3 separate regions of the Homo sapiens genome follow, and regions 1 and 3 are each linked to region 2. The links are contacts of gene promoters, found by promoter capture Hi-C in blood cells and fetal thymus (Javierre and others, 2016). All regions are on one chromosome and are shown on one strand. Each heading gives the region's core, a stretch centred on a gene start or on the middle of the fragment in contact. The rest is flanking DNA. Distances are from core to core; before and after follow the strand shown.

Region 1 (3,454 bases), core at 919-3,418, 2.0 Mb before region 2:
GGCCAGGCTGGTCTCGAACTACTGACCTTATGTAATCCACCCGCCTCGACCTCCCAAAGTGCTGGGATTACAGGTGTGTGCCACCACACCCGGCTACATTTTCTAGCTTTTCTAACCACAAAGATCAAATTAACCATTTACCTTCATCATCTTCATCTCTTTCTTTATCTTCCAATGCTGATCTTTCCAACTGTCTTGCTACTTCATCCACTGAGGCTCCTGATTCTTTATCAGGTTCCTGTTCCCCTGCTGATCAAAATAAAATAGCAGAAATCAAATCTAATACAGACACTTTCCCACTAGAATATGCTCTAATGATCTTGGAAAACTTACAAATCCTTTCCTCAGGAAACAAAAACAGAAACATTATTGTGAACATAACAGAATTCGTTTAATGACAGAAAAATCTTCCATACCTACACAGTATTGTCCATTCATTAATTTACTCAACAAAATATCCATTACACACACTAGCAGCTAAAAGATAAACAGCGTGAACTGGTCTCTATCCTCAAGTAGTTTAACTTGTAATAGTGGTCAGCAATTAGACTTAACAAATACTTAAACACCAGATAGGTAATAAATGCTGAAGGCCTTAGGAAAAAGATTCATGTGCAACACCCCGGGGCAGCCTGGTTTCATGAATAAGGATATCACGATGGGCTGGGTAAAGTCAAAATAAATAGGCAAAGACAGTCCATTACTAAAAAACTAAAACGCTCAAATATCTAAGCACAAGACCAGGCCCCTGCTCTGGAAGTGATTATAACCTACCTATAAGAGCAATATGTTACATGCATTAATAGTATCAGGTAGCACGAAATGAAGTGACATTCTGGCTACTGGAGAGAATTCATATTAAGAAATACAACTGTTAAAAATACATTAGGATCAGTCAGCTTAACACCTTACAAGACAAACAGCAGTGTTTGAATTTCACTCGAAATCCAGGAACAGCCACCAGAGTAACAAATTTTGCTCTGGAAGAGTTCCAGCAACGCTACAACTCTCCTTCCATTCCTATCTAATCAAAATTTCAGAAAGATGAAGATTAGCTCTCTTCGACCTCTCTCAATTCCATCTTAATCGCTTCTGACTTCTCCATTTTCTGTTTCTCTGGCGATTTTAATTAGAAACAAGTAAAAATAATTTTTATTAAGGTGAAGGAGCTTGTGCAGCAAAAACACAGACTTCTCAAAATATGTAAGTTCCTAGTTCATAATATCCAACTGTAAACTCTCAGCAGTTCTCCTTGCCTTACCAGTGGATTTAGAGGTTAAGACCTCAGAAGTTCCATTCTGAGCCACAGAATATCCTATCTGCACTGCCTGCAATTGGTATCATAATTCAGGTCTAAAGGCCCTAAAGCTTGGCGATGCTATGGGATTAGGCAGGTGAAAATTCGTTATCACCACCACAAATTCTGCAATTAATGACATGAGCGCGCGGGCAAACACACATGTACACACACCCCAAAAGTGCAGGCTGCAACAACCCCAACGTGAAACGGGATAGTGGGAGGAGGTGTGCTCTCCATTACATTTGCCCACCCCCAAAGAAAATAAGTCCTAGCTTGCTCCAGCAAACCAGCAAAGACGCGGCAATACGGATCAGAATCGGATTTTTGAGGCGGCGGCCAAATCGCGCGAAAGATGGTAGGGCTGTGCTCTGCGCACAATCTCAAGACCGTGCCACGATGTGCGTGGGAGCTGAGTTCTGGTAATACAGGGGCTCGGGCCCAGCGACCCCAGAGGTACCACACGCCAACCTCAGGCACTCTTTTCTCCCCCACCAGCCCTCTAGTCCCACAGGAGGAGATGACGCCTCTTCTCAGACTAGGAATCTATAGCCCGGCTTTGCCACCCTGTCAGGCCCAAGAATCAGTCTAGTCGGGGCTCTGGGGCCCCGGTCCCGGCCCCCTCAACGGGCCTGAGCCAAACAGTTCAGCCGTTCCCGGAGGGGACTGGGAAAACATAAAACTCTCTTTACCTGCAGAAGGCCCTTTGCTCTTCTTCTTCTTTCGTCTTTTTTTCTTGGCTGCTTCCTCAGCCGTAGAGGCAGCTCCTTCTTCCCTGTCGTCTGGATCCAGGTCGCCATTCAGGTGGCTCCCGGAGGCCGCTACCTCCTCCACACCCGCCATGTTGCCCGAGAGAGCGCGAGGGAATGAGACAGAGCGGCGAGGGCCCCGATCCTTCTCCACCCGCCTACACCAGCCACGCCGGAAGCTGCTCTCGATGGTAGGGACGCAGGGAATGCTGGGACGGCGGAGGACTCAGCTGAGGGTGTCGGGCTAGCTTCGGGCCGGGCGTGCAGGAGTCTCGGCTTGGAGCCCCGCCTGGCTGGAGTCGACTGGGGCCAGACCCGACTGCTTCGTCCGGTGCCTCGGGCATTCCCGAAGCAAATCGGCAAGCGCAGGGTGAAGTTTAAAGGGGAAGTTGAGCTCTAGAGTCAGCCGGAGATACCTGTGGAGACGGGCAACCCGCCGTAGCAAGCGGCGTCTCTGCTGGAACGGAAATATTTTATATTTGCGTTTTTATAAATCACACAGGCAGTGGGGAAACGGGCTAAGAAATGTGTTCACTTGTACACATTTCTATTGTCATGACTCCACATATCTCTTAAATCTAAGAGATTTAATCAAATCTGCGTTGACATTCACAATCACAGCTCTCCGCGAGGCTCTGTAGGCACTGGAGAGAATTTTGGAAGCTGGAGTTCCGTGTTAGTTTATTGTACTACTCAACCCCGGACGGTTCAAGATGGGAACCCGTCACACTCCGCTCACTTTCCAATTCAGGACAAGAATGACAGGTTTTAACACACGGGGACACGGTCTCTCTCATTAATGCAAAAGATCACACTCCGTTTTCTCTATTTCTGGTCACCTTTCTTTTGGATTTAGGACGTTTCACCAGAAACTAATTGAATTTTGCCCATTTCTTTACTTCTTATGTTTTGAGCCTCATGTTCAAACCGCAGTTTGAGATTTAGTTTGTGGCGTAAGTGGATTGTGATTGGCTGCCTGCACCAACTCCTTCTCAATTTCTCCTGAATATGGCTTTGTCCACCTGGAGAGTTTAGGTGTTTTCATTAGTTTTAAACTAGGCACCAAGCTTCATGGGCATCAAAATGTCGTTAAGAGCCTTATTGCCAGTGAGTTTACAGTAAACCTCACACAGGCTCTGACTGCAGCTGCATAAATGTACATTCTCTGTCTTAAAGCTTCAGGCAGCACCTATCCAATAGTAATAAAAACTGTTCCTCTTATTCTTGTACAGATCTTTATCTCTTTAAATCTATCCCTATTTAGATTTTAAATTGTTTTCCCTAGTTGATTGCTGGCAATATAAAAGTTGGTAAACCGGCCGGGCGCTGTGGCTCACGCCTGTAATCCCAGCACTTTGGGAGGGCGAGGTGGGCAGATCACAAGGTCAGGAGTTCGAGACCAGCCTGG
Region 2 (3,380 bases), core at 472-2,971:
AACTGCTTTTAGAATCTGCTTCTAAGCATACCAATTTCTACTCCTGCTGAAGAGATAAAGAAAAATCAGTGCTACCTATGGTAAATTTAAGTTATATTAAACACCACAAGAACAAGGTAAGAATCACTGCCTAGAAGTCAACTGAAGCAATGCTTTTAAACAACTTGGCAATTCCACATGATTGAACAACAGGACGAAGAGCGACATGGACAGAATATAAGATCAGAACCACTGGAACTATGTCCATTACTATTTATCTTAGATACAAACTTCTCTGCAGGACCCAGTGCAGCTCCTTCCACTTAATGAATACTCAGTAAATGTGTAATTACTCTTGAAACAGTCACTCACAAATGGTACACAGAGTATTCATTCTTTTAATGCTAGTGTGGCTGTGTACACCCTCCAAGGTTCCATACACAAGATACTACATCATTTACAGTACTATCCTGTTTCTGATTAAATGAAATAGTTGTCTGCCCTGAGCCATTAATAATAATAATAATAATAAAGAAATATCAAACAAGGCCTATCCTTAGCCTATTACTCAATTGGAGGAACTCATAAATGCCCTCAAGTCCCAGATAAAATTTCACCATCTTATATGTGTACAAAGTCTTTAACTTTCCAACGTACTTTCACCACCATTTCATTTTGCTCTCGTATTAATCATGTGAGGTATCTTTATTCTGATTCATGAAGAAACTAAAGTACAAAATTTAAACGTCTTGCTTCCAAGGACTTTAGAGTCAGTCACTGCCAAATTGGGAAACTTTAAACAAGTCATTAACTAAACGATCCTCAGTTTCTCCAATGACAAAATGGGGAAAACCACAATCTTCATGGCCTGTTGTGAATAAATGACAAATAACCATTGTTAAATCTTGTTTTTAATAGTCTTCAATGAGTATCCGTGCCCTTCCCCCCAATAGTGATAAAAGAGAATTAGGACACAGGCCCTCTTATTTGCTAGTCTAAACCACTCACACTGATACCTTGCACTGCCAGTACATTAACACCGTTAACCCTGAGCTCATAGGTGTGCTTTTTAGTTTACAACCCACTTTCATATACAATATGTGCTCTGACTTTCACAAGTGTGTGAAGCAGCATCTCCATTTCAGATTAAGAACAAAGGCTCAGAGAGGTCAATCGATTACTTGCTCAGTATATCGCTGCTTAATACATGCGTGGGACGTAAACCCATGACTTCTGACCACGAATAAAACATCTTGGGGGAAATTAGGTCCCCTCTGTCCGAAGCCCAGAGAAAAGCACGCCCTGCTGGGAGTCAGATTATTCACCCCAGGAAGATCATTTCAGAGATCAAGTCCCTCAGCCCGGAATTCAACCCCAAAACAAAAGCTACAGAGCCTCTGAGGGTCAGAGGTTTGAGGAACAGGCTACCAAGAGCACCAGAACTCTTCGACCTAAAGGAGTCCCTAGAGCCACAAGCTGCATCACCTCCCCACGGGCGTCCGCCAGGGAACAAAGGGGGCGCTATAAGAAACGCGCAGCCACATGCCGGCTCTTCTGCAGGAAGGACAAAGGCTGGGGATGCAGGCAACCTCGCCCTGCCGGGAACGACAGGCGGGAGACCTCTACAACTGCCGACCAACACTGTGGGACTGCCCAGTTTCGAGGAAGTCCTCGACAGGAGGAGTAGAGGGAAGCGGTTACCTTGACGGCTTCTCACCACGAACCCGCCATCTTGTTTCAATCCTGGTCCCACGAAACAGCGCTGCGCGCGCCGTCCCAGCCCGCGGGGCATTCTGGGAAATGTAGTCTCCGCGGGAAAGCGGCCCGGGTGCAGAGAGAAAGGGAGGATTGTTGCTATGGACTTTTACCTTTAGTTGGGGAAGCGTGGCCGCAGTGTTACTAAGGTGCCCAGAAAAACAAAATCACTGCCCCAAACACATACCCTTAGAAAGTAACAAGCTTTTTTTTTTTTTTTTTTTTGTGAGGCAGTCTCATTCTGTCACCCAGACTGGAGTGCAATGGCTCCCTCACGGCTCACTGCAGCCTCTACCTCCTGGGCCCAAGAGAGCCTCCCACCTCAGCCTCCTGAGTAGCTGGTACTACAGGCGCACACCACCACACCCAGCTAATTTTTTAATATTTTTGTAGAGACGAGGTCTCGGTATGTTGCCCAGGCTTGTCTCAAGCAATCCTCCTGCCTCGGCGTCCCAAAGTGCTGGAATTACAGGCATGAGCCACCATGCAAACCTATAAGTACTTTTTAAAAAAATTATGTTAATATTCAGAGAAATCGTAGATTGCTCTTTAGTAGATGAGTTAAAGTTTCCCAGGGGAAGAGACATTCCAGAGAAGCCCTGAAATGTGGAGGCTAGGATTTGGACGTTTGAAATCAGAACCTGAAGAGAACCTCCACTCTGAAAACCTGGCACTGTGCCCTCAGAACTGTGCTGGCTACCTATTATGGGAGGAAGTAAATATGCAGAATCTTGGACCTCGCTTTCCATCTTAGGAGGAAGGAAAGACCTCTGGGCCTTTGCACTCTCTGTTCCCATTGCCAGCAATGTGCTTCTCTGACCTCTTCTCATGACCTTACAGGTCTTTCTCAAATATCATCTTAGAAAGGACCACACCATTAAAATAGCCTCACCCACCCTTATTCCATGCCCCGCTTTATTTTCCTTCAGAATATTTACCATTACCTGACTTTATATTGATTATTTGTTTGCTCGTTGAATGTCTCTTTCTTTTTTTTTTTTTTTTTGAGACGGAGTCTTGCTCTATCGCCCAGGCCGGAGTGCAGTGGCATGATCTCAGCTCACTGCAACCTCCGCCTCTCAGCTTCAAGCGATTCTCCTGCCTCAGCTTCCTAATTAGCTGGGATTACAGGTGGCCACCACCACGCCCAGCTAATTTCTGTATTTTTAGTAGAGATGGGGTTTCGCCATGTTTGCCCGGCTGATCTCGAACTCCTTACCTCAGGTGATATGCCCACCTCGGCCTCTCAAAGGGCTGGATTACAGGCGTGAGCCACCACACCCAACCTCGTTTAATGTCTCTTATGCTGGATAATGTAAGCTCCTTGAAGACAGAGACATATGTCTATCTTGTTCTTCACTGTATGCAAACCCAGCATCTCAGACTGTGCTTGGTCTCATTATAGGTCTCCAGGAAGTGTTTGCTGAATGAATGAAAAGACTAGATAACGCTGCAAGTATCCAAGACAGTAGATGATTGGCTGGTAAAGCAGAAGCGGTCGCCTGGAAATTCCCTTCTCCCATGATTTGCAAAATTTTGCTTTTGTATATTTTTCTAAGAAATAATCTATAGCTTTTATTATGTATTCCAGGGAATTGATAAACCCCTCAACAAGTTAAGAACCATATTCCTGAAGTGACTAGTAT
Region 3 (3,644 bases), core at 378-2,877, 2.1 Mb after region 2:
TACTACCACTTTTAGTTTCTGTAGTATTGGTTAATGAATATGATACTCCTCTCTACAGCCCCTCTCCCCAACATCCATGTTTTATGGCAAAAGATTATAGGCTCATAAATGCAGCTGGGGCCAATAATTGATGAATGCAATATTTTATGACAGATTATGCATTTCCTTAGACAGGTAACTGTTACAGAAATATTGCTTCTTGATTATAACCAATCAGATAATAAAAATATGTTTCAGTTTTACTGAGATGTTTGATTTTCTTAGGTCTTGTTGTGCCACACCAGGAATAAAGCTTAATTAAGGATTCATTTACTAATTGTTTATCATAAAAGCTATATTCAAGGGAAAAAGTTACATTGAATCCATAGTTTTCTGGGAGGAGAACATGGGAACAGTCTGTTTGTGACCTGTATTTCTCTGCCAACTTCAGGACTTGGTAACCTATACAGGTTTCCTATGTGAGAGGTTAAAGTGTGGGTCCTTCTGTTTCCTAAAAAGGAAGCCTATAAAGCACCACATCATCTTTTAATTATTTTCCATACAATAAAGCCAGTTTAAGGCCATGAAATGGCCTATGAGCTCCTATGTGTTATGTAACATTTTCAGTGGTTACTGTAGCAACATTTTGTCCTTTATGGCATTTCATTTCCATATAAAGTAATCTGCATTGTTATGGGATGCTTTGTCCCATAGTGATGACCATAAACCATGCTCAAGGGTCTCAAACACTGACTCCCCACTCCCTTTTGTTCTACCTGAAAGGCGCCTACTAAGCTTCTTCTTTTAGTGACTATTAAAGGGGGAAGGATGCCCTGAAGAGGTTCGTCCGCTGTCCAACAGCGACCCCTAGAGGCACAATGCCTTGAAAGTGGCCAAAACCTCCAAAACTTCAATGCTTTTCTCCAATCAAGTGCTGCTGTAATTTGCTTACCTTGAGAACTATCACAGCATTAATCAAGACCTGCCTTTACTCTGAAAACATGGGCTGCTTTTGGTGCCCAAAAACGAAAGCCCAAAGTTTCGGGAGCTTTACTACCTACTATCTACTACACATACATTTGTTTTCTCTTTGTGAGATTTAAGGGAACCGTGGAAGAATTGCTTTTTATTCATCATCAAATAAGCATAATAACAAATTTGGGCATAGTCAAGATACAACGCCTTTGATGGCTTTTCGTTAGTTTTTTGTTTTTGTTTTGTTTTGTTTTTCGCTTGAAAAATAAGTTAAAATCTCAGGAAGAAAGAAAGAAAATCCTAGCGCTTTTTCTTTTCTGAGCTTGCAACTGTTTGTAGCTCAGGCACCCGGATGATTCATCCCATGAAAGCCTTGAGCGCTCCATTTGTTTTGTAGATTTCACTACTCCCTTTGTTCCGCTTCAAACCTTTCAGAGGGCTGAAATGCATTATTACCTTGTTAAAGCTCAACCAAAATCATTTCTACAGCCTGAAGCTGTTTTGACGTGGGTTGAGTATCTCACACAAAAGAATTGCTTTTGTTCCCAGAAGCTCTTATTGGCTGAGTGGCCTTTGCTCTGAGCCAATCAGAAGCTAGTTGTTAGGCTTGGCTGGCTATTTTTAGCCCAACACGCAAAAACACTTGGTCTTGGAGGGGGTCGGCTGGAGAGTGAAAGGCCCTGTAGTAAAAGCCAACAGCTAAATGCATTTTGGATGTCAAGGCGCGTTTGACATTTTCTCTTTAATTCCTCATACGCTGTTACATTAGCATGTGTTTTTCGTAAACAACAAACTTAGAGCTGCATTTCCCAGTCCTGAATTATCCATTTAGTAAAGAGACAGAAAGGCTAAGAAACAGCATTCCCCTTTTATCCAAAAGCAACGCACGGTAGTATCTAGTTATTTCATAACGCAAAAAAAAAAAAGTCAGTTACCGTATTGAGAATACTAAGGTGTTTTTGCCAAAGAATTTTTATGAATTTTCATCTTGAGTTAGAAATTTTCAATGCCTTGCTCATAATGAATTATAGAGTCCTAAAATAATCTTTTCCTCTTGCCCTTTAAATATGTATATAATTACACGAACGAGTATACACATGATGTGTAGCAATTAAAATAATAAATGCTGAGTGTGTTTCATGCATTGAGAAAAAGCATTCTTTTGAGCATGTTCTTCCATTTAAGCCATTACTCAGAGGGCACAAGAAGTATTTTTCCCAAATGCGCTTCAAGAGACAGGGCATTAAAACACACAATTTGTTAATTATCCGATATTATCAGGAAATGAAAGTTGCCAAACGGGAAAAGCCAGGCTCTTAAACTTTGATTTTCCCTCAGCAGTCTATTCAACTGGGCTTATATAAGGAGGAGACAAGCTGAACCCAAATTTTACAACACAAAGCAATTTTTATTGGCAGCAAGGGAGACCCCTTCCTGAAAAAGAAAGAAAAAACCCAAATCTATGTCTAATTCTTAAAATATGTTTCAGGTTGTAGATTTTAGCAATATTTATTATTCAAGCTTGGGAATATGACCTCATTTGCCATGGTTGTTTGCTTATTTTAAGAAAAATGCCTTTCTACTTCTTGTTGCAAGCCATCAGGCAACCATTTAAACATGCAAGCAAAAAGTCTGGATCATGGGCATATTTAAAAATCTGGAAGACTTCAATAAGTTGTAAAGATTTACGATTCCATCGTGGGCTTGCAGAAGGGGTTTGCTGTGGCCTTCTGTGAGCAAGGGCGGCCTAGTATATGGTGGGCATAGGCCAAAGAACTTACCAAAAATTCTACCAGAGTGAAGGGAGCACAAATAGTTTTGGGGGAAAACTTTCCTTGTCTTAAGCAATACCGTATACAGTGTTTAGAAGGAATGTCACCTAGGTTTCAGAAGGTGAATTTGAAAGGCTGAAATAAAGTACTTTAGAAAGAGGTATCTTTTTCTTTCCAACATCAATTTGATGCACACAGGGACAGATTTTGAGAAGCTCTGTAATTGCTCCCAGGAGTTGAGTTAGGTTGAGGTAGTCAACCAGCTGCTAACAATTTAGTTTAATATGCAGTCTTAGTAAATTAAAGGAATCTGATAAATTGAGACCCAGCATGATTCTTATTTGTTTGCTATGGCATAACATGTTGAACGCCAGCAGAAATTAACCCATTGAAATTTTTCTACTCAAGGCCCCCATTTTATTTTCTCACTTTCCTGTGTCAGATGTTTTTGCTCCAGACTTGGTCATCTGAGCAATTCCTTAGTTTTATGCTTATCTACTTAAAAAATATATATATAACAATAATACAAATTCTAGAATCATGCTTATTTTCAGTTTTCTCTCTGTGTTTGTATTTAAACTCCTTGAAGGTAAAAATAAATAAATAAATGAGTCTGTTACTCCTCTTGTGTGTTAACCTTTCTACTTCACATGTAGATCATCTTAAACATGCTTGATGTAGATTTTGTTTTCTGTGGGAGCTGAGACACTTGTGGGAGGAGAAATGTGCAATTTTGTACTTGGCTACATCCCCAGAGGAGTGGTGACCAGAAAAGGGAAAGACAGCTTGCCAGATACCTAAAGGATAAATGAGATATTGAGCTACTGGAAACACCAAAATTTACCATTGATTCTTTCTACACACTAAACTGTTACTTGTGATAGTAGTTGTAAAAAACTGCATGTTTATTAACCGAAA

What was found. The method cuts DNA at HindIII sites, captures the fragments that hold promoters and counts their contacts. A CHiCAGO score of 5 or more calls a contact.
Region 1: the fragment with the promoter of METAP2 here is called in contact with the fragment with the promoter of MRPL42 in region 2 in 3 of 17 cell types (total B cells, activated CD4 T cells and total CD8 T cells); the score reaches 7.1 in total B cells.
Region 3: a fragment that was not itself captured here is called in contact with the fragment with the promoter of MRPL42 in region 2 in 2 of 17 cell types (fetal thymus and total B cells); the score reaches 8.8 in fetal thymus.

Annotation. Positions count from the first base shown.
Region 1 is chr12:95,472,866-95,476,319 of GRCh38, reverse strand. METAP2 (methionyl aminopeptidase 2) reads right to left here and starts at 2,168. Exons shown (of 11, transcript NM_006838.4): 1 at 1,990-2,168; 2 at 142-249. The coding sequence starts at 2,140. RefSeq lists an enhancer at 1,952-2,351. The HindIII fragment of the contact is 1,745 bases long and covers 1,371-3,115 here.
Region 2 is chr12:93,465,855-93,469,234 of GRCh38, reverse strand. It overlaps MRPL42 (mitochondrial ribosomal protein L42), which reads right to left and starts at 1,721. Exons shown (of 6, transcript NM_014050.4): 1 at 1,681-1,721; 2 at 1-43. RefSeq lists enhancers at 1,500-1,769, 1,830-1,889. The HindIII fragment of the contact is 2,939 bases long and covers 1-1,940 here.
Region 3 is chr12:91,379,414-91,383,057 of GRCh38, reverse strand. The region is part of intron 4 of LOC105369896 (a long non-coding RNA gene); the gene reads left to right. Among named protein-coding and RNA genes, the nearest start is that of LINC02823, 54 kb to the right of the region's middle. RefSeq lists enhancers at 501-1,332, 1,333-2,166. The HindIII fragment of the contact is 1,701 bases long and covers 777-2,477 here.